3 separate regions of the Homo sapiens genome follow, and regions 1 and 3 are each linked to region 2. Evidence: promoter capture Hi-C in human tissues and cell types (Jung and others, 2019). All regions are on one chromosome and are shown on one strand. Each heading gives the region's core, a stretch centred on a gene start or on the middle of the fragment in contact. The rest is flanking DNA. Distances are from core to core; before and after follow the strand shown.

The links. The method cuts DNA at HindIII sites, captures the fragments that hold promoters and counts their contacts. A contact is called where the count stands out against the background at its distance.
Region 1: a fragment that was not itself captured here is called in contact with the fragment with the promoter of DACH1 in region 2 in 1 of the 25 tissues and cell types used here (pancreas).
Region 3: a fragment that was not itself captured here is called in contact with the fragment with the promoter of DACH1 in region 2 in 1 of the 25 tissues and cell types used here (hippocampus).

What each region holds. Positions count from the first base shown.
Region 1 is chr13:71,832,516-71,835,511 of GRCh38, reverse strand. All of the region lies in intron 1 of DACH1 (dachshund family transcription factor 1), which reads left to right. Among named protein-coding and RNA genes, the nearest start is that of DACH1, 33 kb to the left of the region's middle. The HindIII fragment of the contact is 3,444 bases long and covers 1-2,996 here.
Region 2 is chr13:71,865,264-71,868,655 of GRCh38, reverse strand. DACH1 (dachshund family transcription factor 1) reads left to right here and starts at 1,452. Exons shown (of 11, transcript NM_080759.6): 1 at 1,452-2,734. The coding sequence starts at 1,887. The HindIII fragment of the contact is 6,446 bases long and covers 1-3,392 here.
Region 3 is chr13:71,802,496-71,805,483 of GRCh38, reverse strand. All of the region lies in intron 1 of DACH1 (dachshund family transcription factor 1), which reads left to right. Among named protein-coding and RNA genes, the nearest start is that of DACH1, 63 kb to the left of the region's middle. The HindIII fragment of the contact is 4,518 bases long and covers 1-2,988 here.

The DNA.
Region 1 (2,996 bases), core at 184-2,683, 33 kb after region 2:
CTGGGATAATTTTAGGAGACAAGACAAAATTACCTTACTTGGAGGCAGGCCAAGAGAACAGGATTCTTACCCTTGTTGTTTTATTTTCATTTTAATAAGCATTACAGAGTTTCTCATGAATGACAGTGATTGCAAAATTGATTGAAAGCTCATTTTAATTCAGACTTCTCCATACAATATTTTTTCTTTAGTTTACTTCTTCCAGTCCTTTTGCTCTGTTTCTTGTATTTGTATACATCTCAGTAAACAAGCCTTTATTTGCCTTGGCAAGCTCTAGGTATTTTATTCATTAAGTGAACAGGCCGGTTTCTTTTCTAACAGACTGGTGGTTACCATTTCAAACAGCTCCCTTTGGTCTATTTTGGTCTTATTGTGACTCTCTGAGCCAACATTTCCAAAGTTTTCACCAGCAAATATGTAGGAAGAACAATGAATTTTGGTGGGGAGTTGAGGAGAAATGGGAAAAATTTTGGCAAGCTTGCTTTTCTGTCTTCTTATCTGTTTGGCAAATTCCTGGGCTGAGCCTCAACACTAAATTTCTCTCCCTGCACATGGACAAACACTGAGAGAAAGACAAATGTGGGAAAAGGGAGAAGTAGAAAAAGCAGAGGTAAAAATGCAATGCCTGGGATTTTCAGAATGCCGACAAATATGTGGGTATCTATTCAGCTTCCAAAAATTATGCATCTTCTCTGATTCCCAATGCAAAAATGTGCACATGATTTCTTTGATCTCAAATGGGTATTATTCCCAATATCGTATTAAAGTCCCAATTTTTGAAATGGGAAAACGAAACCAATTTAAGTAGTGCATCAGATGCCACTTAAATGTTAAGGTGGGTCCACCCTTTATAAAATGAGAGAATTGGTCAAACATAGGCTACAGCGGGGTGCGGCGAGGCAACAGAGCCGTTAAAAAGCGTGTGGAATTCTATGCTGAATTCTTCAAGTTCTGACTTCATTCATGGGACTACTTTCTTTTATATAGATAGTGATTCCAGAAATAATGTCCCATAATAGTATTTCAGAGGTGCTCTTGGGCACAATAGCTCTAGATAGTGGAGATTAGGTAGATATTTGGGGTCTTACTTCACGGGCGTGTTATATGAGAACCTTTGCATCATCCATTTTGCTTCTAATCACGTTTTCCATTTCTGGTGTGTGCTTCCCTCATAACCCTGTTTTTATATCATAACGTTTGCTGTATCAGCACCCATTCTCTTTCCACTGCTCAGTTTTAAATAGCTTCATTATGAAAAATATAGTACTTAAAAACATGGCACAAATGTGTATTACTTCAGCACAAGATAAAGAGATTACTGAGAAGTGCACTGACTGCTGAAGTAACTTTATCCTAAGGGATATTTCGCTACTTTAATTGATTTTTTCTGTCCATTTTATTAAGAGTCCTTGGAGAAGGTAAATGGTAGGTTACCTCCTGGAAACAAAGGAACATTTGACGTATTTGTTATGACTACCAGTGTGTCCATACTTTTGTAAAGTTAAACATTTTTTTCATCATCATTTCAAAATTACTTATACTGATGAATAAAAAGATGAGGATCAGTTAGTTCCAACCCTAGATAGGGTGTACTTGAATTTTAAATATCTTGTGCTATTTCAGAGAATTAATCTACGTTTTACTTATTTATGCTAGTTAATAAATTGTAGTTTTGACAAAACTAGGGATTACAATTTATTGTATCAATTACTATTAAAACATTTTAAGACACTTTTTTATTTTAGCTTCACAAAGCCATCCTAGGCAAAACTGCATGACACTGTCGAAGGTCTTTAAGTGGCGTCTCTCACTGCTCTTAGTTATAAAAGTTTAGATGAATGAATACTCTTATAAATCAAAAAAGCTTATAAAGTACCCAGGCTGTGTCACCAAATCCCATAGTTGGTGTGGGCTCTGAATTGTGATATTCATACAAGTTCAGGAATAGTTAAGTTCCAACATTATCACTCCCACCTGAAATTAGGATACTGTAAAAAAAATTATGATGCTACACAATATGTTTATAAATCTCTGTTTTAGTCTATCAACATCGTTGTTTTCCATCATTCTCTCCACTTATACTTCAAGTAGTAATGTGTACAAATTAGGTTAACGGATGCTTTCAAACAAAATTTAGTTTAAATTTGTTTATTCTCTTTATAAACAAAGATAAACAAAATAAAAAGGATGAAACTATGAGACTTTCATGAGCCTCTTTAAATAACCTAGCTCTGTATCTGGGTGAAAGTGACCTACATCCACTGGACCATAGAACCCATCCCTCAGTGGGTCCTGGGGCAGGTATTTCTCACTGAGCATCCCTAATACTCCTAGCCCAGGTGCTACAGATGAATCTGATGCACTAGGATTCTTTTACATCAATGTTGGCTCTCTCTTACAAAATGTTTTCTCTTCTTGTAGCTTTCAAAACGTTCTATTCACATAGATCTCAGAAGATTCTGAAGGGAGCGCAACTTCCCTGTTAGCGTCTTTCTGAAGCTATATGGATTTCATTAAAAATAAAAATAAAAATAAAAAAGTAGGGAGTGGAATTCAGATTGTTTTACTTAATTGTCTTCTCTCAAAAAAGAGGAAAAATAGAGATAAATTAATTACTCCTCTTTTTAGAATAGTAGGAGTTATCTATATATAAAAACAAAGCAATTTAATGTTGGCTTGGTCATTTAACTTAAATACAATTGAAATGAGAATAAACAAAATGAAACAAACTGCTTTAATTGAACCTAGGTGGCTGGATATCATGCCTTCTCTTACATTTTTACATTTCCAGTAGTAGAAGATGTCTTATTTTGAGAAGCTAAATTGATCAAGGTCTATCATTTGAACAAGTTCCTCTTCTATAATAACAAAAAAAATTTAGGTAGTTCTAACTCTAGCTATGATCTACTTGATTTTTAAGTATAATTTTCTATTTGGGAATATTCAACATCAGTTTTAGTCATCTACAGCCATTTTTTGACAAGAATGGAGATTGC
Region 2 (3,392 bases), core at 203-2,702:
AAATTTTATTATAAAATTTCCCAACCCTGTGAACCTGCTACTAACAGTTTATTTTAAAAATCTGTCAAATGCTAAAGCATTGCTTCATATCTTATGAACTTACTGAACATGTGTGGACCGGTTCAAAGGCTAACTAATTGAAGATACTTGGAGACATGAGCAGCAAATAGATTTGACCCATATTCAAATGATATGTTAGTCAAAAATCCTTGAATAAATACTTCAGTGCAACAAGTTAGAAAAGAAAAGAAAAGGAAAGAGGAAGGAAAGGAGGAATAGAGTCAGTCTAAACTCAGCCTCATGTTGTTTTAAGCACAGCTACCCAAGTCTTTACAAGTCAACTAGTGAGCTTTGTTTTTGTTCTTCCCATTATTTACAAAACATATATTTACTGACAAATTGAAAAGGACTTTCCAAAACTACAGCAGCACTTTTCAAACATGAAAAAAAAAAAAAAAAAACTATTGTGTTGTCCAAAAAACACATTAGCAATTGGCTTTGGGTCTTAAAGGACATGAGGATAGTTGGTTACTGTGTAAGACAGGTGAATTAATTATAGAGTTTTGGGTAAGAAAACCCTTTTTCCACTTTCTAAATCTTCAAGGATACCTTATCTCCTTGATAGCTCTAGGTTTAACAGGTATTTCTGACTGGCTTTTGGGGAGACAGTGAAGTTATTCTAAATCATCCACATCAAGGCAAGCATTTCTTTCCACAACCTATTAGGAAATATGGAATTGAATACAGAGCTTTCCATTATTCTTAAGCGATTTCGGACTGACTTTCTTCTCACCACTTGAAAACTGTCCTGGAATTTTCACTATCTTTATATAAATAAATAATTTAGTAGAGAAATAAACAATCAGATGCAAAAGAACATTACGCTTTGCTTACATGTGAATTTTCCTCAAAATAATTTCTGAATAATCGTGAAGTGGGGGCTGTGTTTTCGTTTCTAGCTCATTGCCAAAACGCGTGGAGATGGATCCTAAATCCTGGAAGGAGAGAGCTCGGCGCGCTCAGGCTCCTCTTTAAGTTGGCGGGCGATTGTTTAGAAGCTTTGGAAAAAATTACCAGTCCCCGCGGACGAAATGGAATGTGAGACATGCAATCTAACGGTAGTAGTAGAAGAGAAGTAGATGATCTCCCTCTCCTTTTCCGATCGCCACTTCTGTGTCCCCGGCTTTTCCTCTCCGTCCCTCCCACAGTTTCTTTCCGTATCCTCCCCCTCCCCTCCTCCTTTCCTCGCACGCTCCCTCTCCAGTGTCTCGCGCTCTCGGAGTCTCTGCTCCGAGTTCCTGGTTGGATAATTTGGGTTAATACTAGTGAGTGAGGTTTTTGCGGCTTCAAAGGGTATTTCAAGTTTCCGGAGCTCCTCCCCTCTGCACCGTGTGACAACAACAACTCGTCCAGCCGGCAGCCTGCACTTTTCAGCTCATTTTCTCTCTGTCATTCCCCTCTCAATCTTTGATCAATGTACTTGCCAGGGAGAGCCCAAGTCCTTCAAACCTCCTCCTTTTCACCTTCATCCTTAACTTTGTGCTAGAGCGAGACCCACACAACAACAGCCGACCCTCCCCGCCCCACCCCCACCCCCAAACCAGCCCTCGATCCCAGCCCCCGGAGAGGACTCGCATTTCGACTTGCGGGACACTTTTGTGCGTTCCTCTCCAGAGCGCCTCTCGTGCTCGCCCCTCTTGCGCTCGCTCTTTATTACCTTCACCTCCTTTTCTCCCCCTTCTCTCCCTTTCTCCTTCTCGTTCTCTCCCGGAGTTGTTGTTGCCCCCCTCGCTCCTTCTCCCCCCTTTTTTCCCCTTCCCCTCCCGGGGGTGTGTGGCAACTTTTCCTCTCGCTTCTCCTCCGTCTGTTTCCCCTTATATGTGACCATGGCAGTGCCGGCGGCTTTGATCCCTCCGACCCAGCTGGTCCCCCCTCAACCCCCAATCTCCACGTCTGCTTCCTCCTCTGGCACCACCACCTCCACCTCTTCGGCGACTTCGTCTCCGGCTCCTTCCATCGGACCCCCGGCGTCCTCTGGGCCAACTCTGTTCCGCCCGGAGCCCATCGCTTCGGCGGCGGCGGCGGCGGCCACAGTCACCTCTACCGGCGGCGGCGGCGGCGGCGGCGGCAGCGGAGGCGGCGGCGGCAGCAGCGGCAACGGAGGCGGCGGTGGCGGCGGCGGCGGTGGCAGCAACTGCAACCCCAACCTGGCGGCCGCGAGCAACGGCAGCGGCGGCGGCGGCGGCGGCATCAGCGCTGGCGGCGGCGTCGCTTCCAGCACCCCCATCAACGCCAGCACCGGCAGCAGCAGCAGCAGCAGTAGCAGCAGCAGCAGCAGCAGCAGTAGTAGCAGCAGCAGCAGTAGCAGCAGCAGCTGCGGCCCCCTCCCCGGGAAACCCGTGTACTCAACCCCGTCCCCAGTGGAAAACACCCCTCAGAATAATGAGTGCAAAATGGTGGATCTGAGGGGGGCCAAAGTGGCTTCCTTCACGGTGGAGGGCTGCGAGCTGATCTGCCTGCCCCAGGCTTTCGACCTGTTCCTGAAGCACTTGGTGGGGGGCTTGCATACGGTCTACACCAAGCTGAAGCGGCTGGAGATCACGCCGGTGGTGTGCAATGTGGAACAAGTTCGCATCCTGAGGGGACTGGGCGCCATCCAGCCAGGAGTGAACCGCTGCAAACTCATCTCCAGGAAGGACTTCGAGACCCTCTACAATGACTGCACCAACGCAAGGTGAGTCGGGGGGGATAGCCCCCGCCGCCCGCGCCCCTTCCCACCAGCCTGCTCGCCTGCCCTCGCTCCTTTCCCGGCGCCGCTCGCTCTGCGCGCCCGCGAGCCGCGCGCCCCGGCGAGCGCGGCCCTCTCCTCTCCCTGCTCGGGGCTCGCCAGCCGCGCCCGACCCCCTGAGAAGTTGGCACCTCACCCTGCCCAGACCTCGCTCTTCGGCCCGGTCCTCCCCTTGCCCTCTGGGTCCCGGGGATGGGCTGCTGTGGGATGTGGGAAAGCCGAGCCTCGGGGCGGAGGGGACGAGAGGGAGGAGGACGGCGCCTTTGCTGGAGCCACAGCCCCCTGCCCCGGGCGCGCGGGCGCCTGGAGACCCCTCTCAGCGCTGCTGTCCGCGTTCGTGCGCTCCCCAGGACCTGGGTTCCACGGCCAGCCTCCCGGCACCGACAGGGCTGATCTGTGGCGCCGAGCGGTGTCCCGGGGGCGGGGGGAGGTCGTGACCTGCTCCGCAGGGCTCGGGGAGCGGGGAGACGCGCTCCGGGTGAGGGCCCCGCTGGGAAAGGCGAGGGAGCGGACCAGCACCCGAGGAGGGCACTTTGAGGTCGGGAGGGAAATGACCCGCGAAGCTGAGAGACCGGGTCCATCCCGGGGGATGGGCTCCGGGGAC
Region 3 (2,988 bases), core at 82-2,581, 63 kb after region 2:
GCTTCTGCAAAACAATTGCCATATAAATTTCCTTAACCACTATGAATTACATATGAAATATCAAAAAATTGTCCTGGCTTAGCTGGGTTCATTTTTAAACATAATGGGAATAGAAAATGTTGACTCTTTTGAGGCAACCGAAACCTCCCAGAGAATGTAGTTGAGTGTTTGCGTCTCATAGATTTTGGTGGTTGTCCTCAAAACCATCAAGAAAGTAGCCATCAAGATTCCCTCCTTGTTTTCTAGTCATGTCCTGGTACTTTGATGATAATTGTATACAAATGTATAAACCTTTGTAAGGTTATTGACTCTTTACAATCTAGCTATCTGATGATAAAACTTTCTCTGAAATTAAAAATATTCTACGCCCCATTTGGTTCAGTGGCTACTGACATGTGAGTATTGAGCACTTGAAATGTGGCAAGTATAATTGAAGAGCTAAATTTTAAAATTTACTTAATTTTAATTTAAATAGACACATGTAGCTATTGGCTACTGTATTGCACAGTGAAGATCCATAACATGAAGGGTACAATACTGTGTTCTGTGTTCCAGAGAAGACAAAGCAAACAAACGTGAAATACTTCTCATACGGTAGGTAAGATAAGATATAAATATGTAGGTAAATAATTAATAATACAAGTCAGGATGTTGAAAAAGATTTTAGATAGACTAAACCCCTTGAAAGAACATATTGAAGCAAAAAGTGGGGAAAGATCAATTCTAGTTTATGATGGAAGAGAAAGGTTTATGGAAACAGAAATGTAGACAAACTTTGACTAGTACCTTAACAGGTGGAGCTAATGGCATTCCAGAGGGTGGGAACTTTGTGAGCAAATGCAGCGCTTTGGCAAGAAGAGGTCCAATCATGTAGCTAATGAGTAATAAGATTTAGCTAGAGGGTCAAGAAAGAAGAGCCTTGAATATTGGCTAGGGCCTAAATACGGTAAGCAAAGAAGTCTTAAATATTTAGTGGACATAAGAGAATCAATCTCTAAAGATGTAGGGAGGTGAAATAGGAGGTTATAAAGTGGCCCAGGAGAGAGGTTTGATGCCAGAATCACACTGGTCGCAGTGGTAAGAGAAGGAAGATGATGGGGAGGAATGTCTTGGGTGCATTCTCCCATAGCTGCTGTCTCCTATAGTAGCATGTATTATGTATTTCTTCTCTGAGACAAGGTCTCACCCTGTTGCCGAGGCTGGAGTCCAGTAGTACGAACATGGCTCACTGCAACCTTGACTTCTTGGGCTCAAGCAATTCTCCTGCCTTAGTCTCCCAAGTACCTACAAGTGCATGCCACCACGGCCAGCTACGTTTTAAATTTATTGTAGAGTTAGAGTCTTGCTATGTTGCCCAGGTTGGTCTCTAACTCCTGGGCTCAAGCAATTCTCCCACTTTGGCCTCTCGAAGTGCTGGGATTACCTATGTGAGCCACTACACCCAGCTTTGTAGCATATATTTTTAAAGGGGAAATAAAAAGCCAATCTGTTCCTCCTGTACACCTGTAGCCTTCTCAGCATAGTACCTAATTATATTTCATAGTGGTTTATTTTCAAATACCCAGTCCTAGGCACAAACACATGACAAGATGTCTAAGAATCTAGCAAGATCCAATGCCTTAAGGCTTGATTTTAAAGAGAGGAAAGAGAAGGTGCTGAGATATCAGCCCGTTTTCATTGCTAGATTACATTGATAGTGAATAGATGGGAGGAATAGAAGGGAAATACAAACTTACTATTTCTTTGTGAGCTGATTTAAGCCTGATTCCATGTTTATAAATTGTGAGAAAACTTAAAGCTTTTTCCACGAAATAAATGTCTAATAGGGTCATGATTTTTTTCTTCATAATTTGCTTTCGAATGAGAAAGTTAGAAAATTTAAGTAGAGACTTCAAAATATAAGGGTAAGTTGTCTATGTGAGGAATATTTATTCATATATGTAGTAGTTACAATTGTTAAGCTTGAGAAATTTGCAAATTTACAATCATGGGCAAATGCTTGAACTTGGTCGCATATAAACAAGAATATACTTCGGTTTAAAATTTGTAAATATAAGTTTTAAAATGTTCAAATAAAGAAGTGACAGTTCCAATTCTTTAGTAACTATCCTAGTTAAACGCATCAAAAAATATACATGAACAGTTTACTTGTAAAATGTTATCATACTGTTAGAGAGGGTGTTTGTTAAGAATCTAGTTGTGTAATGAAATTGCTAAACAGGATGTTAAAGCACTACCAGGAATCTTACACATCTTCAGCATATCAGAAATCATGCAAATGTTGGGCTCAAAGTTTTAGTTTGTTCAAAAATGCTTTCAGATATTAAATTGGTATCTTGTTCCCATAAATACTTTTTATTGATGTGCCTTTGTTTTAGGAACATTTCAAAATAGGACTTAAGAGATTAACCTTAATATGTTCATACACTTTGAAATTTTACCCACAAGTTATTATGACAAACATTTTGTATATAATGAGAAAAGTTTATTTTCTATAAACGCTGGGTAAATGTTGGAAGCAGAAGGACTTTGTTTTTGCCAACTGTTTGCTTAAACCTACACAATTAAATCACAATTATTACTGCTTCTCTGAACAGTTTCTAAATTTTTGGTTCACATATTCCTTGGTTTGTAGATGTGTATGTGTGAGCTTTTAATACAACCAAACTTTTAGCATATCTATAATCACTACAGTCGTTTTGCATTTTGAGTGTGTTTGTCTCATACTCTGAAAACAATGGTATATTTTTTATTGCAAATTAATTTTGTTTTCATTATTCACAAAAGCCTGCAACTCTTTTAGTTATTAGACCTTCTTTGTTTTGATTTAAACATATCCTCTTACTAAAATTGTTTATATTCTTCAGTTTATATTAATATAAAGAATAAAATTTTTGTTTTATTTTGTTTTCCCTGGATGGAAGATTTACACATACTTGCCACATTTTCTGGTTGCTCTCTGTTTCTGTTAGCTTTCATCTTCAAGCT